2 separate regions of the Homo sapiens genome follow, and region 1 is linked to region 2. Evidence: promoter capture Hi-C in human tissues and cell types (Jung and others, 2019). All regions are on one chromosome and are shown on one strand. The core of a region is centred on a gene start or on the middle of the fragment in contact, and the rest is flanking DNA. Distances in the headings are between cores, read along the strand shown. Region 1 overlaps VPS13D (vacuolar protein sorting 13 homolog D). Region 2 holds the start of TNFRSF1B (TNF receptor superfamily member 1B).

The links. Contacts are between HindIII fragments. The study calls those that stand out against the background at their distance.
Region 1: a fragment that was not itself captured here is called in contact with the fragment with the promoter of TNFRSF1B in region 2 in 5 of the 25 tissues and cell types used here (H1 embryonic stem cells, heart right ventricle, mesendoderm cells and 2 more).

The regions. Positions count from the first base shown.
Region 1 is chr1:12,274,761-12,279,718 of GRCh38, forward strand. VPS13D (vacuolar protein sorting 13 homolog D) reads left to right here. Exons shown (of 70, transcript NM_015378.4): 19 at 1,065-3,278; 20 at 4,739-4,890. Among named protein-coding and RNA genes, the nearest start is that of VPS13D, 47 kb to the left of the region's middle. The HindIII fragment of the contact is 4,428 bases long and covers 429-4,856 here.
Region 2 is chr1:12,165,139-12,170,320 of GRCh38, forward strand. It overlaps TNFRSF1B (TNF receptor superfamily member 1B), which reads left to right and starts at 1,853. Exons shown (of 10, transcript NM_001066.3): 1 at 1,853-2,031. The coding sequence starts at 1,954. It overlaps MIR7846 (microRNA 7846), which reads left to right and starts at 1,805; the gene lies at 1,805-1,900. RefSeq lists silencers at 1,689-1,998, 2,009-2,238 and an enhancer at 2,279-2,920. The HindIII fragment of the contact is 11,494 bases long and covers 1-5,182 here.

The sequences.
Region 1 (4,958 bases), core at 1,393-3,892, 110 kb after region 2:
AAAGATGAGACCTCTCTTCTCTCAGAACATTCCAGTGGATGCTGGGCCGTGGTGGCTCATGCCTGTAATACCCAGCACTTTGGGAGGCTGAGGTGGGTGGATTACATGAGGTCAGGAGTTCGAGGCCAGCCTGGCCAACATGGTGAAACCCTGTCTCTATTAAAATACAAAAAATTGGCCAGGTGCGGTGGCTCACGCCTGTAATCCCAGCACTTAGGGAGGCTGAGGTGGGTGGATCACCTGAGGTCAGGAGTTCGAGACCAGTCTGGCCAACATGGTGAAACCCTGTGTCTACTAAAAGTACAAAAATTAGCCAGTCATGGTAGCAGGCACATGTAATCCCAGCTGTCCGGGAGGCTGAGGCAGGAGAATCTCTTGAACCTGGGAGGTGGAGGTTGTAGTGAGCCAAGATCATGCCACTGCACTCCAGCCTGGGTGACAGAATGAGACTCCATCTCAAAAATAAATAAAAATAAATAAATAAAAATGTAAAAAATACAAAAAATTAGCCGGGCATGGTGGTACATGCCTGTAATCCCAGCTGCTTGGGAGGCCGAGACAGTAGAATCGCTTAAACCTGAGAGGCAGAGGTTGCAGTGAACTGAGATCGTGCCATTGCACTCCAGCCTGGGTGACAGAGTGAGACTTCACCTGAAATAAAAGAACATTCCAGTGGGGGAAACAAATGAACACACAGAAAAAGGAAAAGAAATAAAAGACTCTAGAGAGGGACGTAAGAAAGGGTTGGTGAAAGCAGCTCACGCCCATGGCAAGGCAGGGGAGAAGTGGGGAGGCAGCATTGGGTCAGCAGGTGGCGCTCATGTCAGGGGGCCTCCAGCTTTTTTCGTGTCCATACTTTTTTATATTTGTGTTTTGATTTCCAAATTTATAGGTAAATTCACACTTAGAAAATGGTAAACAAAGATATTATGCTTAAGAGTTTTCCTCAGTTTTCTTAAACAAACTGGGGTTGGTTGATTCTCTACCTTTCATAATTATTACATTAAGGGAAAGAGGAGGGAAATAGCAGACATATATTTGAATCTTCTTTTTTTTATCTTCAGATAACTCCAGGAGGAAAAGTAGGGATGGGTCAGCATCTGAAGAGACCCAGTTTAGTGATGATGAATATAAGACCCCCCTGGCCACACCTCCTAACACCCCACCTCCCGAGTCAAGCAGCAGCAACGGAGAGAAAACACCTCCCTTTTCTGGAGTTGAGTTCAGTGAAGAACAGCTTCAAGCACATTTAATGAGCACAAAGATGTATGAGAGGTACTCGCTGTCATTTATGGACCTCCAGATCATGGTTGGACGAGTGAAAGACAATTGGAAGCATGTCCAGGATATTGACGTGGGACCAACACATGTGGTAGAGAAGTTCAACGTTCACCTACAGTTAGAGCGTCGATTGATTTATACTTCAGATCCCAAATATCCAGGAGCCGTGCTCTCAGGCAACTTACCAGACTTAAAAATCCACATTAATGAAGATAAAATATCTGCACTAAAGAATTGCTTTGCTCTCCTCACCACCCCAGAAATGAAAACTTCTGACACTCAGATTAAAGAAAAGATTTTTCCCCAGGAGGAGCAGCGGGGAAGTTTGCAAGACTCCGTAATGAATTTAACCCAGAGCATTGTGTTGTTGGAGCAGCATACCCGCGAGGTTCTGGTGGAGTCGCAGCTCCTCCTGGCGGAATTTAAAGTGAACTGTATGCAGCTTGGTGTTGAGAGCAATGGCCGGTACATTTCTGTGCTCAAGGTGTTTGGTACCAATGCTCACTTTGTGAAGAGGCCTTATGATGCTGAAGTCTCCCTAACTGTTCATGGTTTGCTCCTGGTGGATACCATGCAGACATATGGTGCTGATTTTGACCTTTTGATGGCTTCACATAAGAACTTGAGCTTTGATATTCCAACGGGAAGCCTTCGGGATAGCAGGGCCCAGTCTCCTGTCTCTGGACCGAATGTGGCCCACTTAACTGATGGAGCTACACTGAACGACCGATCAGCTACTAGTGTTTCACTTGACAAAATTCTTACCAAAGAGCAAGAGTCCCTTATTAAGTTGGAATATCAGTTTGTGAGTTCAGAGTGCCCATCGATGAATTTAGACAGTACTCTTCAGGTGATTTCCCTACAGGTGAATAATTTAGATATTATCCTCAATCCAGAGACGATTGTGGAGCTAATTGGTTTTCTTCAAAAATCCTTTCCCAAGGAAAAAGATGATTTAAGTCCTCAACCTTTAATGACTGATTTTGAAAGAAGCTTCAGAGAACAAGGAACTTACCAGTCTACATATGAACAAAACACTGAGGTTGCAGTGGAAATCCATAGGCTGAACTTACTGCTTCTTCGGACAGTGGGCATGGCAAATAGAGAGAAATATGGCAGAAAAATTGCAACTGCAAGTATAGGTGGCACCAAAGTTAATGTCTCAATGGGTAGCACGTTTGACATGAATGGTTCTCTTGGCTGTTTACAGCTTATGGATTTGACACAAGATAACGTTAAAAACCAGTATGTTGTCAGCATTGGGAATTCTGTAGGCTATGAAAATATCATCAGTGATATTGGCTACTTTGAATCTGTGTTTGTCAGAATGGAAGATGCAGCCCTCACTGAAGCTTTGAGTTTCACGTTTGTTGAGAGATCTAAACAGGAGTGTTTTCTCAACCTGAAGATGGCTTCTTTACATTATAACCACTCTGCTAAGTTTTTGAAGGAGTTGACGTTATCCATGGATGAACTGGAAGAAAATTTTCGAGGTATGCTGAAAAGCGCAGCCACCAAAGTCACCACAGTACTAGCTACCAAGACTGCCGAGTATAGCGAGATGGTATCGCTCTTTGAAACTCCAAGGAAGACTCGGGAACCCTTTATCTTAGAGGAAAATGAAATATATGGGTTTGACCTAGCTTCGTCTCATTTGGACACTGTAAAGCTAATCTTGAACATAAACATTGAATCACCAGTTGTTTCTATCCCTCGGAAGCCGGGGAGTCCTGAGTTGTTGGTGGGACACTTGGGACAGATATTCATCCAGAATTTTGTGGCGGGAGATGATGAATCCAGAAGTGACCGTCTGCAGGTGGAAATCAAGGACATTAAACTGTATTCTTTGAATTGCACCCAGTTGGCAGGTAGAGAAGCTGTTGGGTCTGAAGGAAGCCGGATGTTTTGCCCACCTTCCGGGTCTGGCAGTGCCAACAGTCAGGAGGAAGCTCATTTCACACGACATGATTTCTTTGAATCTTTGCATAGAGGTCAAGGTGAGGAGCATCAGTCTTTTGTTCTATTTTGTTTAATGATTGAAAACCCAGCTCACGGAGTCCTTTGCGTAAAACAGCAACAATAAAATCCTTTTCTTTTAGAATAATCCTCAGTTAATATTTAAGAAATCAAAGAGTTTTAATAGAATGCCTTGTAGTAGGTTGGCATGTTTTCACCCTTTTCCATTTAATGTCATATTTGACAAAACAGGAATTTACTTACTTTTATTTTTATTTTTTTGGTTTTTTGAGACGGAGTTTTGCTCTTGTTGCCCAGGCTGGAGTGCAATGATGCAGTCTCAGCTCACTGCAACCTCTACCTCCCAGGTTCAAGTGATTCTCCTGGCTCAGCCTCCCAAGTAGCTGGGATTACTTACAGGCACCCGCTACCACGCCCGGCTAATTTTTGTATTTTTAGTAGAGACAGGGTTTCACCATGTTGGCCAGGCTGGTCTCGAACTCGTGACCTCAGGTGATCTGCCTGCCTCGGCCTCCCAAAGTGTTGGGATTACAAGTGTGACCAGCCGCGCCCAGGCAGGAATTTATTTTTTTGAAGTGTTCCAGCTTGAAACTGTATGAGTGCTCATTTACAGAGATGCTTCAGTGGATGGATGTTGTTAAAGTATTGTTTAATTTGGTCAAATATATCTGATTTTCTGTTCCCAAGCTGTCGATCCTTCCTAGTTAAACATTTTAGCCCAAGATGCCTCAAGGGGTTGATGTAAATAGTTTGTGGATATTATCTTCTTTAATATTCTGCCATCTTCTTCTATAATGGGTTGGTCCAAGGTTCTAAGAATAAAAGCTTATGTTTGTATTCTGGATCTGATCAGCTAAAACCAAACAGTCCAATCTGTTGGTCTTGGCACGCAGAGATCAGGTAAGTCCTAGAGCACGCCTTTATTTATTGGTGATGAAATTAATGCCTTTGAGAACTTACCCTTCTGTGGTCATCAGATGTTAATTCACTGATTTGTTTTTATACTTATCAAAAGATAGCTTTCTCTGCTTGGATAAAAGTTGTTTACTTAGAACTTGTATTGTCCTAGATTCTGATTTAGGCCTAATAAGAGGGATACATCTGTATCTGAAAGCTAGGTAAGGATGAATAATTCGGTTTGGAAAATGCCAGCTTGGGTGGCTCAGAGAAGCATAATGTAGTCTCTGGACTGGAATAATGTTCACCACATCGTGCTTTGAAGCTACCAAGTGGAGCATGTGATGAAAATATTGTTTCTTTTTTTGTGTAAATGTATCTTGTACCTCAGCTTGCTATGAGTTTTGGCCTCAGGATAGCTGTCAAGGTTTGCTCTCAATCATAGACCCCGGGTGCCAGGCTAACCTGCCCTCCTGGTCTAAGTGTAACTCATGGGCTGTATTTTGTATATTCTACGTTTAATCAGCAGTAATGAAGTAAATATTAAGGTTTATGGTCTATCATTTCATCTCTTTTATGCCAGCTTTTCACATCCTGAACAACACCACCATTCAGTTTAAACTGGAGAAGATCCCTATAGAGAGAGAATCTGAATTGACTTTTTCTCTTAGCCCAGATGACCTGGGAACTTCTAGCATCATGAAGATTGAAGGAAAATTTGTCAATCCAGTTCAGGTAAATTCATGTCAGGGCAGTTGAAGTCATATGTTTATATTAGTACTCTATAAATATGATATATATTT
Region 2 (5,182 bases), core at 603-3,102:
TGTTGCATAGAGATTAAGCTTGAATTCGTTCCCAGGATGGGACCTAAGCCTGGGAGGATCCCCACCTTCAGGAGGTGATGGTGCCATTCACTGGGATAGGGAAACTGGCAGGAGGAGCCGGTTGTTGAGGGTTGGGGGTGCAGACAGTCTGTTGGTCCCATTGGTCTTGAGGTGTGTGGGGGACAACTAGAGAGAACTATTGTCCCCTGCTTCCACGAGGTGACATCTCCCTCCTGCCTTCAGCTCTATTTTAGGGATCAAGGAGTCCTTGGAGCTGCTCCTAGGCATTCTCATAAGGGCCAGAAGAGCTCTGCATGTCTGTCCAGCGGCTCTGCAGAGTTAAGGCTGTGGGTCATACCAGCCACACCCTCAGCGTGGTCCATGTCACAGAAACATGTGGAAACCAGGTGATTTCCCAGCCTCCTGGTCAGGAGGTGGGGTTTTCCATCCCCAGGGAGTCACTTCCCAGTTTCTCACTCAGCACTCAGCACCTAGAAGCACCATCCTTGCAGGCTCCACTGTGGGGCTGGTGGCCGGGAGCAAGGGTCTCTGTACCTCTTCAGGCAGCCTGCAGTGAGGAAACAGGGAACAGAATAGCCTCCTGCCACCCAGCCCACCCCAACCCTTAGAAATGCCCTATGTGCTGGGGGCTAGGACCCCCGTAATCCAGGGCTGGAGGAATGTGCTCTGGCCCCGCAGGGCTGGCCCTGTATTAGGGCTGGCACTCAAAGTGGGGATGGGGGGACAGATTGCAGCTGGAATGGGTGCTCGGTCATGATGTAAATCCTGGGGAAGCCAGCTCTCCTGGGCCTGGTCTCAGCAGCCCCTCAGGGCCCTGCAGCTTCCCTGGTGACATTCTCTCCCAGCCTCTGTTCATCTGCCCCCTGCCTGGGCAGGAGACTTGAGCAGGGAAGTGCAGAGTCTTCTCCCTGTGAGAAGGCTGGATGCGTGTTTAAGGATAAATGAACACGCGAAGAGTAGTAACAACAGCCAAGATTTATAAATGCCTATTGTTATATATGTAGATACTTACTTAAGTATATATAAAGTACAGACTGCATTATGTATATTACATATCTTTAAATTTTTAGAATAGTCCTATGAGGTCAGTTCAGAGATCCAGACCCAGGTGGTCTGGCTCTAGAGTCTAAACAGGCCGAGTGCAGTGGCTCACACCTATAATCCCAGCACCTTGGGAGGCCAGAGGCGGGAAGATCACTTGAGGGTGGGAAGAACACGTGAGCTCAGGAGTTCGAGACCAGCCTGGACAACATGGCGAAACCCCATCTCTATAAAGAAATCAGCCTAGCATGGTGGCCCGAGCCTGTAGTCCCAGCTACTCGGGAGGCTGAGGTGGGAGGATCGCTTGAGCGCAGGAGTTGGAGGCTGCAGTGAGCTATGGGTGAAAGAGTGAGACCTTGTCTCAAAAAAAATTAAAAAATAAGAATTAAATATATTTAAAATAGAGTCTAAATAAGTGAATGATCTAGAATTCTCTTGGTTCCCCTAAAGCAGCTGTCAGCTTTGGGGGATGTTTTTCCAAATTAGTGCCTCACCCTCACGGGACAGGGAAGCCTGTGGGAGCTGGGAGGGCAGGTGGAGGCCGGGCAGGTGGAGGCCGGGCAGGTGGAGATGGTGATTCGAAGAGGAGGGGACGATAGGAGGAGGTTGAGGGGTCACCCGAGTGCTGGGAGTGACGCTGGAGGTATCGGCCCAGCGATGCTGGAGTGGTCGGGTCGGAGGCCCAGCAGCGTCTGGGGAGGGGCGTGGGGGAGGCGTGTCCAAGGCCGGCTGGCCCCGCCCCGCCCCGCCGCCTGGCCTCTGGCCCGCTGGGGCGCGGGCTTTCGCTTTCAGTCGAGGGCTAGCGAGCGCAGCGGAGCCTGGAGAGAAGGCGCTGGGCTGCGAGGGCGCGAGGGCGCGAGGGCAGGGGGCAACCGGACCCCGCCCGCACCCATGGCGCCCGTCGCCGTCTGGGCCGCGCTGGCCGTCGGACTGGAGCTCTGGGCTGCGGCGCACGCCTTGCCCGCCCAGGTGGGTGACTCGCGCGGCCCACGGGGGACAGCCGCCCCGCATGTCCACCCGGCTGGTGCGCAGCCTTCGGGTGCCCGGGCCGCGCTCTCCCGGGGCGCTGTCACGGGCTGGGAGGCTGGGAGTCCCAGTCGCCGCCCCCCATCCGCATCAGACACGCGCGCCTCTGGGGACCCGCTGGGGACTCCGGGCCCGGCACACGTGCGCTCGGGGCACAACTCTGGCCCCCGAAGCCCCTCTTACCCGCGTCGTGACAGGGGCGCACCCTGGTTCCTCCGCGAGCGCAGGCCGGGGCATTTGGGGCTGAGCAGCGGGTCCTGGGCAGACCCCCGCTAGACCCGGGACCCCTCTTCCCTCACCCCGGCGACTGCCGCGACAGCCCTTCCCTCCCACGCGGTGGAGAAGGGGCTGTGCCGGGGCGCTGCCCCACTGCCCACGCCGGGCACCCTCTTCAAAAGACTTCCTTTTCCTCTGGGCGACGGTTTTCCGATTTCTTAGAAATACCAGGGTCCTGTGTCTGAAGAGCAGGACCAGGTGTGTGTCAGGTCCACTGAGGGCACAGCTGGAGGGCGAGCTGCCTGTCTGCTTCCTCCGATGCGTCCGGGGGCTACTGCAGAGTCTGTTTTCTGCGGCCTCTGGGGACAGGGCAAGCGAGGGAGGTCTGGGCTGGTAATCGAGCAAGGCAAATGAAGTCTCCGGGGGCCGCAGGAAAATGGAGACAGCAGAAACCCTAGGGCTCCTATTCAATATGAACGTCACTCCCACAGTAGCAACGGGCGTACAAGGGACTGTGCACCCTTTGCCTGTTTTTGACTGTCTCCTGGTCTGGTAACATAGGATAACCCCATTTTTGTTTTACTGTCTCCATGGTTTGGTAAGATAAGATAAACCATTTTTTAGAGAAGGAAAACTGAGGCTCAGAGAACTTGTATTTCATGGAAGGGTCTGGGGGGAACTCTTCCTCCAAAGGGGGCCTCTCCTGCCTTCGGCCCCTGTGCCCTGAGGCTGCGGGGAAGGTGGGCGTTCATCCTTCCTCAGAGCCGCCCCTGATGGACACATGGCCCATCTGCCCCCATCTGACATCTTGACCGAGGAGGAAGGTGGGAGGTGGCACTGGCTTCTGTGGTGACATAAGGTGACTTGTTGATCTGAGGCCAGAGAGTCCAGTTCTTGTGGGTGGAAGATGGGGGCTGTCAGACTAGAATTGACTCACCGACAGTGGGTGTCAGGAGTGGGTCCTGGAGAACTGCCCCAGAGTAAGTCCTGGGTGGCCTTTGGGTCAGGAGAGTCCCCACTCTAGGGCCGAGTGTGAATGGGGACGACCGTGGTCCCCAGCTTGACTTTGGGGTCATGCCATATACTCTGGCCTCAGAGGGGGTCTTCCTGCCGCTGAGCTTGGGCCTGCCTGGGTGAACTCTGGGGTCATGTGAGCCCCTGGATGGGAGAGGGGTGTCAGGCACAGGGCTCAGCAGGACACCAGGCTGCAGTCCTGGAGTAGCTGGAGGAGGTTCCCTCCCACTTCCTTCCCTTCCTGACCAGCTCCTGCGGCAGCTCATATTCCCTCCTCCCTCATCCCTGCTCCCCACGACCCCACCCGGACTATTGCCGCAGCCTTGTAGCTGGTCTCCCGGCCCTGCCCCCTCTCCCGCTGATCCTTGGCAGAGAGACCCTTCTCAAGCATGAGGCACCTCTCTGTTTGCCTGGGGAGCCTCCTGTGGCTCCCAATGGTTGAGGCAGAAACTCCCCTGGAGATCCCAGGCCAGAGTAAGGTACCTGAACTCTTCCTCGCGCCTCCCTGCACATGTGCTCCCCCGCCTCTGTAGAACTGATGATGGTCATCGTGTGTGTCATTGTGCAAAAAGCATTGTCCGTGCCATCCCCTCTCCAAGGGACACTTCTTACCCCTATCCTTCAAGGCCTTCTGCAAATGCCATTCTCTCCAGGAAAGCCTTTCCGCATTCTCAGTTGGATTTGATCTTCTCTTCGAACTCCCAGGCCCTTTTGTTCCCTTTGAGGACAGATTGCATTCTGCTTTTTAATCTAGCTGTGTTTTATCCCCCTCAGTGGATGGAAGGTGTCTTCAGGGCCAGAACTGTGGGTTCCTCTTCCTTCTCATCAGTAGCATCGCCATAGCTCCTGATTTCTGAACACCCACTAAACACCAGGCACTGGGCTAGGTACTTTGTCACAAAATTTCACTGAAACCTCCCTTACAGCAACTCCCAAGAGGTGGGTGGTGCCGTTTGTCTTTAGAGATGTGGAAACTGAGGCGTTTCCCAGGATCACAGAGCTGGGGGCCGGGGAGCTGGGGGTGGGATTTGAATGCAGGTCTGCCTGATTCCCAAGCTCCTTTCACTGCACCCTCCCCGTGCCCGTATCTGCACTCATGCTCCCAGCCAGGCCCTCACACACAGTGGGTTCTCAGGATGGAAGTCAACTGAGCTGCAGAAGAAGCCCCCAGGAGACCTGAGCTAGCCATGGACGCAGCCGACTCACTGCCAGCAGGGCTTTTGCCCCGTTTAAAAGTCTTATTTGCCAGCTGGTATGGAAAACATCATTCATTCATTTAGCCATTTATTCATTTGACAAAGAAATGCCAGTAAACCTGGCAGTAGGTGAGTGCTTGGTGCCCTCTGATGGGGATGAGCAGGGTCTGGGCTGTCTGGGGAGGAGGATGAGGGGTCTCTGCCTGATGGGCCTGGCCCACCTACCCCTGGAAGTCTTGGTGCTGAGGTGCCACTATTTGCCTCCTCATCACCCAGGGCCTGGGGCCAGTTTGGGTTAGGGGAGAGGTTGGGGGCTCCCAGGCTGGATGTCAAAGAGGAGTTGGGTGATCTGGGGTACCTGCTGGCCCTGGGGGCTCTTCCCTCCTTCCACCACGTCTCTGTCTCTTTGCCCTCTGTCTGAAATCCCAGTGGGGACCCTGTGTGTTGACTGAGGGTGTGGTCTGTTGGTCAGGCACGTCTTCAGAGGGCAATGGGTAGGTGGCCAGGCACCCTGAGGCAGGGCCATTCATTCATTCATTCATTCCCCAAAGTTCATGGACACACCTAGTCCAAGCCCAGCCCAGTGCCTGGCTCTGGGGACCTCAAGATGACTCCAGCTCCAATCCTCTAGGAGCTACACTACCAATAGGTCACAGACCTCACAGACC